2 separate regions of the Homo sapiens genome follow, and region 2 is linked to region 1. Evidence: promoter capture Hi-C in 16 types of primary human blood cells and fetal thymus (Javierre and others, 2016). All regions are on one chromosome and are shown on one strand. Each heading gives the region's core, a stretch centred on a gene start or on the middle of the fragment in contact. The rest is flanking DNA. Distances are from core to core; before and after follow the strand shown. Region 1 holds the start of SOX18 (SRY-box transcription factor 18). Region 2 has its middle 9.2 kb from the start of HELZ2.

Region 1 (7,142 bases), core at 2,061-4,560:
AAGGGCCACACTGGGAGTCTCATTCACACGCATGCAGAACCACAGACACACTCTCAGAGGCGTGTGCTCCCCCGTACCTGGGAGGCTGAGCCGCGAGTGAGTTTCCACACCAGGGCAGTAAAGGTTCAGCTCTCCCCACCGACTCCCCACCTATGCAGAGGGGGTGCTGGGGCAGGATATGCCCTTCCCCCAGGAGGGAGGTGCATGCCCCTCCTCTTGGCTTATACCTGCCAGGCCCTAGGGAGTGTGTCTGTGTCTGGGTGTTCACTTTTGGGGGTGATTACTCCAAACTTCCCTGAACACGTGGGTTTGAGGTCGAGAGGACCAAGAGGTCAGCATGGAAAGACGGTGTCCAGGCCGGGCGCTGGGCTCACACCTGTAATCCCAGCACTTTGGGAGGCCGAGGCGGGCGGATCACGAGGTCAGGAGATCGAGACCATCCTGGCTAACACGGTGAAACCCCGTCTCTACTAAAAATACAAATTAGCCACGTGTGGTGGTGGGCGCCTGTAGTCCTAGCTACTCAGGAGGCTGAGCAGAATGGTGTGAACCCAGCAGGTGGAGCTTGCTGTGAACCGAGATTGCTCCACTGCACTCCAGCCTGGGTGACACAGCGAGACTCCGTCTCAAAAAAAAAAAAGAGAGAGAAAGAAAAAGAAAGAGGGTGTCCAGTCCTCCTGGGGGCTAGTGAGATACGACTCCAGAGTTGGGGGGTCTTGGGATGTGAAGCCTGTGCTCTCCTGCCTTGGCCATCGGACCTGTCTCTGGGCAGAGCTGGACAGGTCACCCGGGTGGGGGGAGCGCTGTGGGTGTAGCATGGTGCTGTCCTCCCTGGGGTGAGTTAGAACAGCTGACGGAGACCCTGGAGTCTGTGTCTGCATGTGGGCTGCCAACCTGCCAGCCTCCCTCAGGAAAGGGGGCCGTACTGGGCAGTCCTTGGGCATGGAAGTTTTAAGGTGGAGGCAAGGGCGATGAAACCCTAGCGGGGGTGTGACAGGATTGCTGGTATAGTCTGACCTCCGATAGGCTTGAGTTAACCTGGGGGTGGGACAGGAGGGGAGTGGAGGGCTGGGGGGGAGTGTGGACCCATGCCTGCTACCCACGCTCTCTGGGATGTGTCACGGAAGGATGAAGGAGTGCTATGAGGTTCAAGCTAGGAGTCAGGCTCCCTGGGGGCGATTCGGAGGGAAGGGGCGTCCAGGGCTATTTGGGGAACTGCTTTTCCCTCCCTGCAAACACCACAGATGTCAGTGTGCAGAGGAAAGGCCCGAGGATTTATTGTGGCCTCTCCGTCCGGGGACCCAGCTCCAGGCTCCTCCTTTATAGAAAGCAAACATCTGTATTCCTCACATTGCAAAAGTCTTTGCCACAGTGACGCTTCTGATCACTGAAACTTCTTGGAAGAAAAGTTTAAGAGTTTAATTAAAAATTAAATATATTGTATTAGGTATATTTTTTAAAAGGGCAAAGTAAAAAATATTAATACAATCTGGTTGTAGAAAATACACTGCAAGAAAAGGAGCAGGTGCTTCAAAAATGTAACCCTGGCAACTCTGCCAACAGGTCCTGGGCTCGGGCTTCCTGGAAAAGCCCCGGGACACGTGGGAACTCCAGGCACCCTCGCAGGGGCCCCCCGAGGGCAGGTGGCCCAGAAGCCCAGGAAGGGTGGCCTGGGAGGTGGAACGGGCGCAAGGCCGAGCATCACTGGCTCCTAGGGGGCTGTGACATGGAACCAAACATACACGCGTATGAGAGAGCAGAGCGGCAGCGACGCGGTCGGATCGGTCGCGGGGGCTGCGGGAGGAAGCGCTGCAGGGACCCGGGCGGCGCCGGCGGCCTAGCCGGAGATGCACGCGCTGTAATAGACCGCGCTGCTGGCGTCCGACAGCGCGGAGATCAGGCTGCTCTCCTCTGGGCAGGACATGGCGCGCGGGCCCAGTTTGGCCAGTGCCACGTGGTACGGGAGCCCGGGGGCGTCGGGCCGAGTCCGGCTGCAGTTGAGGTACTGGTCGAACTCGGTGAGGTCCACGTCGGCCCACAGATCGGCGGCGGGCCCCAGCGGCTCGGCGCTCTCCAGCGGCGGGGCCTCGGGCGGCGGCGACAGCGGGCCGGGGTACGGGCCGGGCGTGCCCAGGGTGCCGTAGTACAGGCCAGCGAGCGGCGCCGCGGGGGGCGCGGTCCTGAGCGCCTCCGCCAGGGGAGCCCCGTAGCAACCGCCGGGGTCCCGCGACAACTCGGTGGGCGCGTAGGGCGCGCGGAAGGGCCGCAGCGCGCAGTCCTCGGGCGCCGCGGGCGGTGGGAAGAAGGCAGCCTCGCCGGGCTCCAGGCCGTCCAGAGGCGAGCGCTCGGGCGTGGGCAGCCCCAGGCCGTCGAACTCGGCGCCCAGCGGGGGCAGCTCGCGGAAGGCGCGAGCCGAGCCAGACGCCGCGGGGAAAGGCTCGGGCGGTGGCTGCGGGGGCGCTAATCCCGGGAGCAGGAGGCCGGGCTCCAGCCGCCGGGCCTTGCGCGCCTGCTTCTTGCGGCGCGGCCGGTACTTGTAGTTGGGGTGGTCGCGCAAGTGCTGCACGCGCAGCCGTTCGGCTTCCTCCACGAAGGGCCGCTTCTCCGCCGCGTTCAGCTCCTTCCACGCTTTGCCTGCGGGCCGTGGGCGCCAGTGAGTGGAACGCCGTCGGGCGGGTGGGCGCCGAGCCCTCCGTGCGCCCGGGACGCCCCGCGAGGGTTTGGCGCAGCCCCCGCACCCCGCGGCCCGGGACCCCTGCCCCCCCCGCCCCACCCCGGCCCGAGCCCCCCCCGCCCTCTCCCCCTTCTCTGCCGCCCTCCCGCCGCTCACCCAGCATCTTGCTGAGCACCGCGTTGTGCAGGTCCGGGTTCTGCTGAGCCAGCCGCTTGCGCTCGTCCTTTGCCCACACCATGAAGGCGTTCATGGGCCGCCGGATGCGCGACTCGTCTGCCGCCTGGCGTTCCCCGCGGCCGGCCGGGCTGAGGCCATAGCGCCCCGGCTCGGGGCTGCGCGGGGGACTGCGCTGCGGGCTGGGCGGCGAGGCGGGCGCGGCGGGCGCGGCGAGGGCGGCGGGGCCGGCGGCGAGGCCGCGCGTGTCAGCGGCGGCCCCGTGTCCCGGGGCCCATGCACAGTCGCGGCGGGCGGGCGGGTCGTCCTGTGCGCCGTAGCCGGGCGGCGATCTCTGCATTCCAGCTGGGCGCGGCCTGGGCGGAACGGAGCGCGGGAGCGCGGCGGGCGGGCGGCGGGCACTGGGGAGCCGGGCGCAAGGGCAGGCCAGGCCGGGAGGGCGGATGGCGGTGGGGACGGCGGTGGCCTCGGGCCGGGCGGGCGCCCAGATATAGCGGCTCAGGGCCAATCGGCGGCGGGGCGGGCGGGCGGGGGCGGGTCGGGGCCGCCTCCTCCCCGGGGGCTCCCTTTCTTCTCAGGCCGGGCGGGATTCCGCTGAGGCCTCCCCCGCGCACAGCCCCCCCACCTCCCCCGCGACCTCTCAGAAGGAGAGACCCCCCGGGTGGGAAAGAAAGGGCTGCTGATGAGGGCCGGTGCTGCCAGACTTTCGGAGGCGAGCTGCCACCCACCCACGGAGTCGGACCCCCGGGCAGTAACTGGGGGAGGGCGGCAGTGTCCCGCTGGTTGCCGTTCCCCGCCCCCCGCTGGGAGGCTCCATGGGGAGGAGAGGGCCCTTTTTCACACCAAGTTCTGGGGAGGCTGCCTTCCCAACAGCCGGTAAGTCCTTCCTGGAGTGCAGCGCCTTCAGAAAAGGCCCCGTCTTTGGGGAGGCGCTCTGAGTCCCCAGGGGCGCCCATGCTGGAAACTCTACACCCATGTGTAACCGTCAGCACCAGGGACTTTGAGTGCCTTTATGGGACAAGATGGTCTTCTGTCCTCACTCCCAAACCAACTCTGGCACAAGGCAAAGCTGACACAGGGAGGGAGAGAGCAGAGGCCCTGGACGGAGCCCACAAAGAGAAGGGGGAGCAGGGACGCAGAGGCTGTGGCGTCCTCCCTGCCCCCCAAGGGCCCTTGGGGAAGGGGCTGGGACCCTCAGTGGCTTGCTGGCTCCCCTGCCCAGCCCAGGCCACCGCTGCAGCAAGAGGCAGGGCCTACCTGGGTCCTTCCCACTGGCCCCTCCCTGGACCCTCTGACCTGGGCGGGGGCGGGTTCCGGAGGAGCGTCCAGCTTCCTGAATTTTCACTGTCCCCTTCCTACTCCATCAGGAGGGGATCTGGGCTCCAGAGCTGAGGGTCTCCCTCTGGAGGTCCTCCCCTCCCACTGCCACGCATGGTTCTACTGGAGAAGGGTTGGGTGTCCCCAGCAGCCCTCCAGGCAGGGTCAGAATCTCGCCACCTCGCGGCACATCTCCTCATAGCCTGGAGGCTCCCCAGCTCCCCCCGCCACACTATGCCGGGAGCCCCATGGGTAGAGGCCACAGGTCTTGTGACCCTGAGCCTGTGTGGCCAGAAGCTCTTGGTTCTCTGTCCCTGCCAGCCTCGCTAGGCCACATCCAGCCTGTGTTATGAATGGGGTGGGCCCCACGTGGGCCTTGCAGTGCCCCTTAGAGGCTGTTCCTGAACTGTCCCCAGGGGCACTCCTGCCCTGAGGCCAGCACCCCCACAGGGGCACTCCCACCGAGGGCTGTCGCGGTCGGTGTCCAGCCCTCCCCAAAGCCCCACATCACAGTCTGTCTCGACGCCCATCGTCCCAGCATACGGGGCTGGGTCTCCCAGTCTGGTCTCCAGATCTCCCGTCCCTCCAGTTTGCCCCACGGGCCTAGCACCTCGTTCACAGACACTGAGCCAGTGCTGGCTAATGGGGGGCCCGTGGGGCACCAGGAGGTGCGGCCCCTGGCTTTTCTGGGGAGGCAGGCAGGGTTGTGGCCACAGGGATGGAGGGGCTCACAGGCCTCTGCCGGATGCTGCTAGTCCTCCTTTAATCTCAGTATGGGTGGCTGGACCCTTGGCCGAGTCTCAGTGTGGGTGGGCCTCCTGGGCAGCTGGCAGGAGGGTGCAGGGGGGGTGGGGAGCCGTGCGAAGACCCCAAAGGGCTACCACTTGGCGGAAGCTCTCTCTACTCACAACCTTAGGGTTGCAGTCAGGGGTCACCAGGGCCTGGCTCAGCCTGGGCAGTGGCTGGTCACTGCGGCCTGGGAAAGAGGTCCTCGGGGTCCTCTGCAGTAGCCCTCACACGTGGGGAAGGATTTGCAGTTCCCTGGGGGCCCTGCTTGGTCCTCTGCCACCCCCGAGAGCCCAGAGTCACTGGAGCTGCTCTAAACATAGTGGCAGGCAGTGTCCGGCATGACCTCATCGCCTCCACGTCCCCCACAACACCCACCAGCAGCCGCCTTGCCTGGCGCCAGCCAGTGACCCACCCTCTTGGCTGGGCTGTGGACTCAGGTGTCCGGCTGTCATGTCCTGTGAGTCGGGGCTGGGCGGGGAGCCTCCTGAGGTGCTCCTCTCCCTCTGCGTGGCAGGGAGGAGGCTGGCAGCCCTGGCCCAGTGTCCAGATGGGACAAAGTGGGGGTAGGGACCACAGCCAGGGTGGCGTGATCTGGAGCCGCAGGGCTGGGGGGACTTGCCAGGGCTGTAGAGGGGATGGTGTGGGTGTGGCCAGCTGTGCTGAGGGAGGGGCATCCGATGTGTGTCTGTGCATCTGTGTGTGGCCTGTGTCTGTCTGTCTGCCTGGGTGTGGGGTGAGGGGGACTCTAGTGCTGGAGGCTGCCCAGGGCCTTGAGAGCCAGGCAAGCTGGACGTTCCCAGGAAGAGATGAGGACCCATAATAGGTCCAGGACCAGGGGTCCTGCTCCGTGAAGTTTGGAGGGTCCCCAAGGCTTCTCTGGCCACTGAGCTTGGGCCCCAGCATTCTCCAAAAGAGGGCAGGCAGTTCATGAGTCTAGGGGCATTCCTCTGCCTCTGGAACCCCACCTCAGTCTGTCCTGGACTAGGTGGGCTATGGCCCACCCTTGGGAAGGAGCCTATCTGTAGCCCCCAAGCCCCAGTCAGAAAGGCAGAGTTTGGGGGCAAGCTTTCTCTACAAGGGTGGGGCTGGCCTGGGCACTGAGTGGACACTGTCCTCCTGCCTGCCACCTGCCCCTCTCCCTCAGCTTGGACAGGAACCCCGGCCTCTGAGTGAGGTCCGCAAAGGATGCTGGGTAGTCCCCCTCCGTGGCTCTGGGTGGGAGCTTGGCTTGGCGCGGCTCTGGGCCGGGATGGCAGGACCTCCCAGCCACTGCCTGGGCACAGACCTCCCAGGATCCCACCAGCCCAGCCCCTGCGGCTGCAAGAGCAGCGAGGCTGGGACCAATTACCGAGTCCCGCAGGGCCTGGACCCTCCTGCTCCTCAAGGGTGAAGGTGGGGGTTCCTGTTGGATGCAGTTTCAGGTGGAGGGGGCTCTCTGGCCTCCCGAACCTCGGCTCTCTCCAGTTCAGATCCTACCTTCTGCCCACAGCTGAACACCTCTTCCTACAGGGAGCCCCCGACCTCCCAGCCACTGTCCTCCAGAGGCCATAGCATCTTGGTCTCCTTCTGTCTGCTGCCTCGGTAGGCTTCCTTTGGGACCCGTGGAGGCATGTCTGACTCCTCAGGAGCTCTGTATTTAGTGGGCCTTGTCCTGGGGTGGCGGCTCCAGGCCTAGTGAGACATGGCAGAGGCCAGGGCAGGGAGAATGTGAAGCTGGGGCGAGGGTCTGTGACGAGGCCGCCTGACGCCTCAGCACCAGGTGGACACAGTTGTGTGCATGTCCCTCTTGGCCAATGACAGGTCCGGTTCAGGTGGCCCTTGCCCAGGGACAGAGGCTTCTCCTGGCTCCGTGCCTTCCAGCTCTCAGTCCTGGTGTGCACAGCGTCACCGGGCTTCCGATAGCTGCCGGCCTCAACTCTGGGAGAGGGCAGGTGGGGCGGCAGGAGGTGCCTGTGCTTTCCTAGGCATGAGCAGGCATGAGAGGTGCACATGCTCCTGCTCACCTGGGCGGCGCCTCTCAACTGTTAGGTGTGGGGTTAGGGTTCACCTGACGATTTGCCGCAGTCCAGCGGACCCGAGAGTTGCATGCAGAGCTGGGGTTGCGGTGCGAGTGGGGAAGGGTCTGAAGGTGTGGGTGCAGGGGGCTGTGCTGGGGCCTGCAGGCTGGGGTGTGCGGTGTGAGTGGGGT
Region 2 (7,142 bases), core at 2,288-4,787, 470 kb before region 1:
TCTAAGGACAGATGGCGTCTCCAGCTAGATGGTGTCTCCAGGTAGACAACAACGTCTATGAATTGACGGTGTCTCCAGGTTAACAACAATGTCTCCAGGTTAACAACAATGTCTCCAGGTAGACAACAATGTCTATGAATTGATGGTGTCTCCAGGTTGACAACAATGTCTATGAATTGATGGTGTCTCCAGGTTGACAACAGTGTCTCCAGGTAGACAACAATGTCTCCAGGTTAACAACAATGTCTATGAAAAGACGGTGTCTCCAGGTAGACAACAATGTCTATGAATTGATGGTGTCTCCAGGTTGACAACAATGTTTCCAGGTTAACAACAATGTCTATGAATAGACGGTGTCTCCAGGTTGACAACAATGCCTATGAATAGATGGTGTCTCCAGGTTAACAATAATGTCTCCAGGTAGACAACAACGTCTATGAATTGATGGTGTCTCCAGGTTGACAACAATGTCTCCAGGTTAACAACAATGTCTATAAATTGATGGTGTCTCCAGGTTGACAACAATGTCTATGAATTGATGGTGTCTCCAGGTTAACAATAATGTCTCCAGGTTGACAACAATGTCTATGAATTGATGGTGTCTCCAGGTTGACAACAATGTCTCCAGGTAGATGATGGTGTCTATGGGTGGACAATGTCTCCAGGTTGATCTGGAATCCCTCCCACTGCAGACCCTATCACCTCCTCCACTCAAGGTGTGAGCTTTTGGCTGGTGGGAGGGCGCCCGGGAGGGTCTCTGGAAAGATGGGAACTGGGTGTTAAAGACCTGCTTAAGTGAGTTATACCCAGAGGCCGTCAGTTCCTGCCCGAGAGCACATGGCCCACAGTCACAGGTAAACTGAGGCCTGGCCCTAAGCCCTGGGGACCTCCACCTGCACTGTGATGCTGGGGAGGGTGTGTGGGTTTTCCCGCAGGGTTCGGGTGATAGCGGACGGCACAGGGCAGCAGACAATGGCTCCAAGTAGACGTCTCTAGGTAGATGGTGTCTTCAGGTAGATGGTATCGGAATTAAACTGGAGCACGCCCAGCCGGCGTCGGCTGCAAAACTGACTAATCTGTTGTTGGAACAGAACCCCCACCTGGTGTCAGCAGTGAGCTGTGCTGTGAGAGTGCAGGAGAAACAGCCTAGTTTTCTGACATCATTAGAGGTGATGAGCCACCTTCTCAGCCCCTGCTCACCTCTCCCCCACACTGAAGCCTGCTGGAGCCCTCAGGCCAGGCCCTGAGCAGGAGGCATGGGGTAGGTGTTGCAGGATCTAAAAGGCCTCCCAGGGGCAACAGAGAGCCTGGCCAGGGGCTGTGCCTTTCTCTGCTTGCCCCCACAGCACCCCCAAAGCTTGAGGCTTGATCAGATATCCCTGAGGTCTCCTGGCAGGGACCTTCCTAGTCCTCACTGGCCCCCAGTGTCCCTCTGCCATGTGGCCGCCTCTCCGGGATGACAGGGGGAGGGGCCACACTCCTGCTGGGGCTGGAGATGTTGGGGTCTGGAGTGGGTGTGGGCCTGCCCTGGGGCTGCTCTGGGCATCTGGTTGACACAGAGCCAGGTGCCTGTGCGCCCCGTGGGGCAGCTGTGCCCAGCCTGGCTGCCCTGGAGGAGGGAGCCAAAACCTGGGCCTTTCCACCCAGCCTTCCGGTCTCCCCTCTTCTCCCTGGACATACAGGAATGTGGCTTGCTCCTGACGCCCAGAAGTTCAAGTCCAGAACGTTACTGCAGATGTCGGGAGAGACAAGACAGGACAGAAGGGAGCCTGGGTCAGACCCAGGTCTGCGGTCTGTTGGTCCCCGAAGGGCCTGAGGCGGGGAAAGGACAGTCTTCAACAAGTGGCAGCTGGAACACGGAGTAAAGTTTCGGGAAAAACGAAGCTCAGCCCCACCTCGCATTGCACACAAAATTTAATTCAAGATGGAACATCTAAGCATCAAAGCTAAACTGTAACGCTTCTAGAAGAAAACAGGAGAAATCTTCACAACCTTGGGATAGGCATATATTTTTTTCTTTTCTTTTCTTTTTTTTTTTTTTGAGACAGTCTTGCTCTGTCGCCCAGGCTGGAGTGCAGTGGCGTGATTTTGGCTCACTGCAAGCTCTGCCTCCCGGGTTGATGCCATTCTCCTGCCTCAGCCTCCCGAGTAGCTGGGACTACAGGCGCCCACCACCACGCCCAGCTGATTTTTTGTATTTTTAGTAGAGACGGGGTTTCACCATGTTAGCCAGGATGGTCTTGGTCTCCTGACCCTGACCTCGTGATCCACCCGCCTAGGCCTCCCAAAGTGCTGGGACTACAGGCGTGAGCTACCGCACCCAGCCGGCATATATTTCTTTAAAAAGACATAAAAGGTAGAAATATAAGAGAAAAAAATTGATAAACAAGGTTATATAAGTAAAAAATGTCTGTACCAGTGAGAAAAATGAAAAGTCAAGCTATTAGTTGAGACAAAAATATTCAAAATACACATATCTGATGAACTATATGCAAACTGAAAATGTTTTTATCTTTGTTATTATTATTATGCTTTGAGACGGTCTTGCTCTATTGCCCAGGCTGGAGCGCAGAGGTGTGATCACAGCTCACTGCAGCCTTGAACTCCGGGCTCAGACAATCCTCCGACCTCAGCGTCCCAAGTAGCTGGGACTCCAGGCATGCACCAACACCCTCAGCTAATTTTAAAATTTTTTGTAGAGATGGGGTCTCACTATGTTGCCCAGGCTGATCTTGAACTCCTGGCCTCAAGTGATCCTCCTGCCTCGGCCTCCCAAAGTGTTGGGACTACAGGGGTGAGCCACCACTCCTAGAAGGCAGATTTTTTTTAATCTCAAAACTCAAAAGTCCAGTTTTTAAAAACAAACAAAATATTTGAACAGACACTCCACACAAGAACATATACAAATGACCAAAAGCACGTGAGAAGGTGCTTACCATCCAGTCACTGGGACACGCAAATGGGACCCAGCGAGAAACCACCTCACACGGGCAGACCGACTGCGTCCAGAGTGAGGACGGCTCGTGCCGCGGAGGGTGCGGAGCAGCCACCGCTCCCGTTGGTGCTGGTGGGGATACAAGACGGCACAGCCACCTTGGAAAACAGCTCGGTCATTTCCGATACAGTTAAATGAACATCTGTCTCAGGATCCAGCAGTTCGACTCCTGCAAATCTACCCAAGAGAAATGAAAAAAGGATCTTCATTCTTCACAACGCCTGGGCCAGGGAGCCCCTCCTGCTGGGGCCAGCGTGCTGACGCCCACACAGAGACACCCGCCGGTTCACAGCAGCCCCATTCCCAGCAGCCCCAGACTGAAAACAGCTCCAATGCGTATCACCAGGCGGCTGAATAAACAAACCGTGGAACGTCTGTACGACACAACACTACTCAGACAAAACCAAAACCGAACACGTCCGACCCACACAGAAGCATGGAGGAATCTCAGAAACAGTTCAGTGAAAGAGGCCAAACACAGACGAGTATTAAATGTGCGGTTCCGTTTCTATGAAGCTCAGGAACAGACGAATTCTAAAAACCAGGTCAGTGACTGTGAGGACAGGCCCGACTAGAGAAGGGAACAAGGGGAGTGTCCTCTGCCTGGTGCAGGCAGCAGGTACATGTGTCTGTATTGCTTAAAACTCATCCAAGGCTGGGCGCAGTGGCCTGTCATCCCAGCACTTTGAGAGGCTGAGGTGGGCGGATCACTTGAGGGCAGGAGTTCAAGACCAGCCTGGCCAACATGGTGAAACCCCATCTCTACTAAAAATACAAAAATTAGCCAGACATGGTGGTGCGTGCCTGTAGTCCCAGCTACTCTACTCGGGAGGTTGAGGCAGGAGAATTGCTTGAACCCAGGAGGCAGAGGTTGCAGTGAGCTGAGATCGCGCCACTGCACTCCAGCCTGGATGACAGAGCAAGACTCCGTCTCAAAAATAAATAAATAAAATAGGCCGGGCACGGTGGCTCATGCCTGTAATCCCAGCACTTTGGGAGGCCAAGGCAGGCAGATTGCCTGAGCTCAGGAGTTCAAGGCCAGCCTGGGCAACATGGCAAAACCCCATCTCTACTAAAAATACAAAAACTTAGCCAGGCATGGTGGCTCAAGCCTTTAATCCCAGCTACTCGGGGGACTGAGGAAGGAGAATCGCTTGAACCTGGGAAACAAGAGGTTGCACTGAGCAGAGGTCGCACCACTGTACTCCAGCCTGGGTGACAAGAGCAAGACTGTCTCAAAAACAGAAACAAACATGTCTAATAAGGGATCATTATCCAAAATATGAAAAGAACTCTTAAAACTCAACAATAATGAACAACCCGATTTTTTAAACAGACAAAAGATCTGAAGAGTCACCTCACCAGAGACAGAGAGAAGGCAAAGCAGCAGCTTGTGAAAGGGTGCTTCCCATCACACATCATTAGGAAATCTGCAAACCCAAACAGTGAGTTACCATCATACACCTGTGAGAATGTGCCAGGGCCAGGCGCAGTGGCTCACGCCTGTAATCCCAATGCTTTGGGAGGCCGAGGCTGGAGGATTGCGTTGAGTCCAGGAGTTCGAGACCAGCCTGGGCAACAGAGTGAGACCCTGTCTCCACGAATTTTTTTTTTTTTTTTAGAAGGAGTCTCGCTCTGTCGCCCAGGCTGGAGTGCGGTGGCGTAATCTCGGCTCACTGCAATCTCTGCCTCCCCGGTTTCACACCATTCTCCTGCCTCAGCCTCCTGAGCAGCTGGGACCACAGGCGCCTGCAACCACGCCTGGCTAATTTTTTGTATTTTTAGTAGAGATGGGGTTTCACCGTGTTAGCCAGGATGGTCTCGATCTGACCTCGTGATCCGCCCGCCTCAGCCTCCTAAAGTGCTGGGATTACAGGCGTGAGCCACCACAACCGGCCTCCATGAACACTTTTTAAAAAAATTAGCCGGGCGAGGCGTGGTGGCTCACATCTGTAATCCCAGCACTTTGGGAGGCCGAGGCAGGTGGACCACCTGTGGTCAGAAGTTCAAGACCAGCCTGGCCACATGGCGAAATCCAGTCTCTACTAAAAATACAAAAATTAGCCATGCGTGGTGGCATGCGACCGTAATCCCAGCTACTTGGGAGGATGAGGCAGGAGAATCACTTGAACCCGGGGACTGGAAGTTGCAGTGAGCGGAGATGGTGCCACTGCACTCTAGCCTGGGCGGCAGAGTGAGACTCAATCTTGAAAAAAATAAAAATAAAAATAAAGAATGTCCCAAACCCAAAACGCTGACAACGCCAAATGCTGGTGAGGACGTGGAACAGGAACCTCAGTCATTGCAGGTGAGGACGTGGAGCAGGAACCTCAGTCATTGCAGGTGAGGACGTGGAGCAGGAACCTCAGTCATTGCAGGTGAGGACGTGGAGCAGGAACCTCAGTCATTGCAGGTGAGGACGTGGAGCAGGAACCTCAGTCATTGCAGGTGAGGACGTAGAGGAACAGGAACCTCAGTCATTGCAGGTGAGGACGTAGAGGAACAGGAACCTCAGTCATTGCAGGTGAGGACGTGGAGCAACAGGAATCTCAGTCATTGCAGGTGAGGACGTGGAGCAACAGGAATCTCAGTCATTGCGGGTGGGAATGCGAGATGGTGCTGCCACTGGCGGAAGACACTTCAGTAGTTTCTTACAAAATGAAATACATTCTTACCACACAATCTAGCAGTTTCACCCCTTGGTATTTACCCAGATGAGTTGAAAGCTTAGGTCCACACAAAAACTTGCACGAGGGTTTTTAACAGCAGCTTTACTCATAATTGCCAAACCTTGGAAGAAACCAAGATGTCCCTCAGTCGCTGAATGGTATACTGTGGCCCATCCAAACAGTGGCATGTCACAAAGCACTCCACCCTCTGTGGGGACTCTGCCTTCTGGAGTGCCCTGGGCTGGACAGGCCACAGCCCACTCCCCACTCCTGTGTCCTCAGCTGAGGAGTGGCCAGTGCTGCACCGGCTCCTGGGGACACTCAGTGGGTACAAGACATGACCCCTTGTAGGTTTGTATCTTGTGGCCTCTGAAACCCCATGAAGTATCAGGAGGAGGAGATATCATGGTGGGATACTGAGGGGTGCAGCCCCCTCCAGGGGCAGAGGGAATGATGGGGGTGCTCAGGACGTGTCAGCAAATGGGAAGGGTCACAGCCGGAAGGGTAGCAGGAGGGTAGGAAGGGCCAGAGGTGGGAACCGGGTAGTTACATCGACCTGAGAGAGATGGAGGGGGCCTGGCCTCACAAGAAGGGGATGCATCGTGGATGTGAGGTTGCAGGAAGGTGGGCTGAGCCTGTGGGCAGGTGTTGGTGCTCCCCTCCCCGACGGGGCACGATGGGGACAGAGCATGGGAGGGAATATGAAGCAGGAGCTCTGTCTTGTACACATGGAATCTGAGGAGCTGACAGATGACCTGTGGGGAGGGTGGTCCCGTGCCAATGTGTGCTGGAAGGACATGCCTGTGCGTTTATCAGCTCTGGGCTGCAGCAGGGCACAAGCGTGGAAGAGCAGCCATGGCAGAAGGGCAGGTTTCAGAGTGGACTCTTGGAACCAGCGCCCTGTGCCCCTCCAGCCACCGTCCCGGAGGGCACCCAGTGACCCGGCTTTCGATGCCATTCTGCCTTGAGGGACGTGTCCAACTTTCCTAAGTGGAACCACGCGGCATGGACTTTTTTTTTTTTTGAGACAGAATTTCACTCTGGTCGCCCAGGCTGAAGTGCAGTGGTGCAATCTCGGCTCACTGCAACCTCTGCCTCCCAGGTTCAAGCGATTCTCCTGCCTCAGTCTCCCGAGTAGCTGGGATTACAGGCACCTGCCACCACGCCCAGCTAATTTTGTATTTTTAGTAGAGATGGGGTTTCACCATGTTGGCCAGGCTGGTCTCAAGCTCCTGACCTCAGGTGATCCACCCGCCTCAGCCTCCCAAAGTGCTAGGATGACAGGCGGGAGCCACCACACCCAGTGACCACACAGCGTGGACTTCTATGTCTGCCTCTTGCTGGGCCGTGAGTCTGGGAGGCTGGCCTGTGGCTGGTGTGCAGGCTCCTATGGCCTTGGGTGGACCATGGCAGCAGGGAGGGGAACAGCGTTGGTGACGAGAAGGCTCTGGGACTGAACCTGGGAGAGGGGAGGAAGG

What was found. Contacts are between HindIII fragments. The CHiCAGO score rates a contact against its expected background, and 5 or more counts as called.
Region 2: a contact is called between a fragment that was not itself captured here and the fragment with the promoter of SOX18 in region 1, in 1 of 17 cell types (total CD8 T cells). The highest score is 5.1, in total CD8 T cells.

Annotation. Positions count from the first base shown.
Region 1 is chr20:64,046,329-64,053,470 of GRCh38, forward strand. SOX18 (SRY-box transcription factor 18) reads right to left here and starts at 3,311. Exons shown (of 2, transcript NM_018419.3): 1 at 2,831-3,311; 2 at 1,254-2,634. The coding sequence starts at 3,188. The coding sequence ends at 1,838. RefSeq lists enhancers at 1-110, 3,182-3,863, 6,612-7,142, a silencer at 3,001-3,050 and promoters at 3,188-4,296, 3,191-4,088, 3,191-3,451. The HindIII fragment of the contact is 12,409 bases long and covers 1-6,017 here.
Region 2 is chr20:63,579,851-63,586,992 of GRCh38, forward strand. No RefSeq gene overlaps it. Among named protein-coding and RNA genes, the nearest start is that of HELZ2, 9.2 kb to the left of the region's middle. RefSeq lists enhancers at 1,280-1,459, 2,743-3,243, 3,244-3,744. The HindIII fragment of the contact is 4,364 bases long and covers 1,356-5,719 here.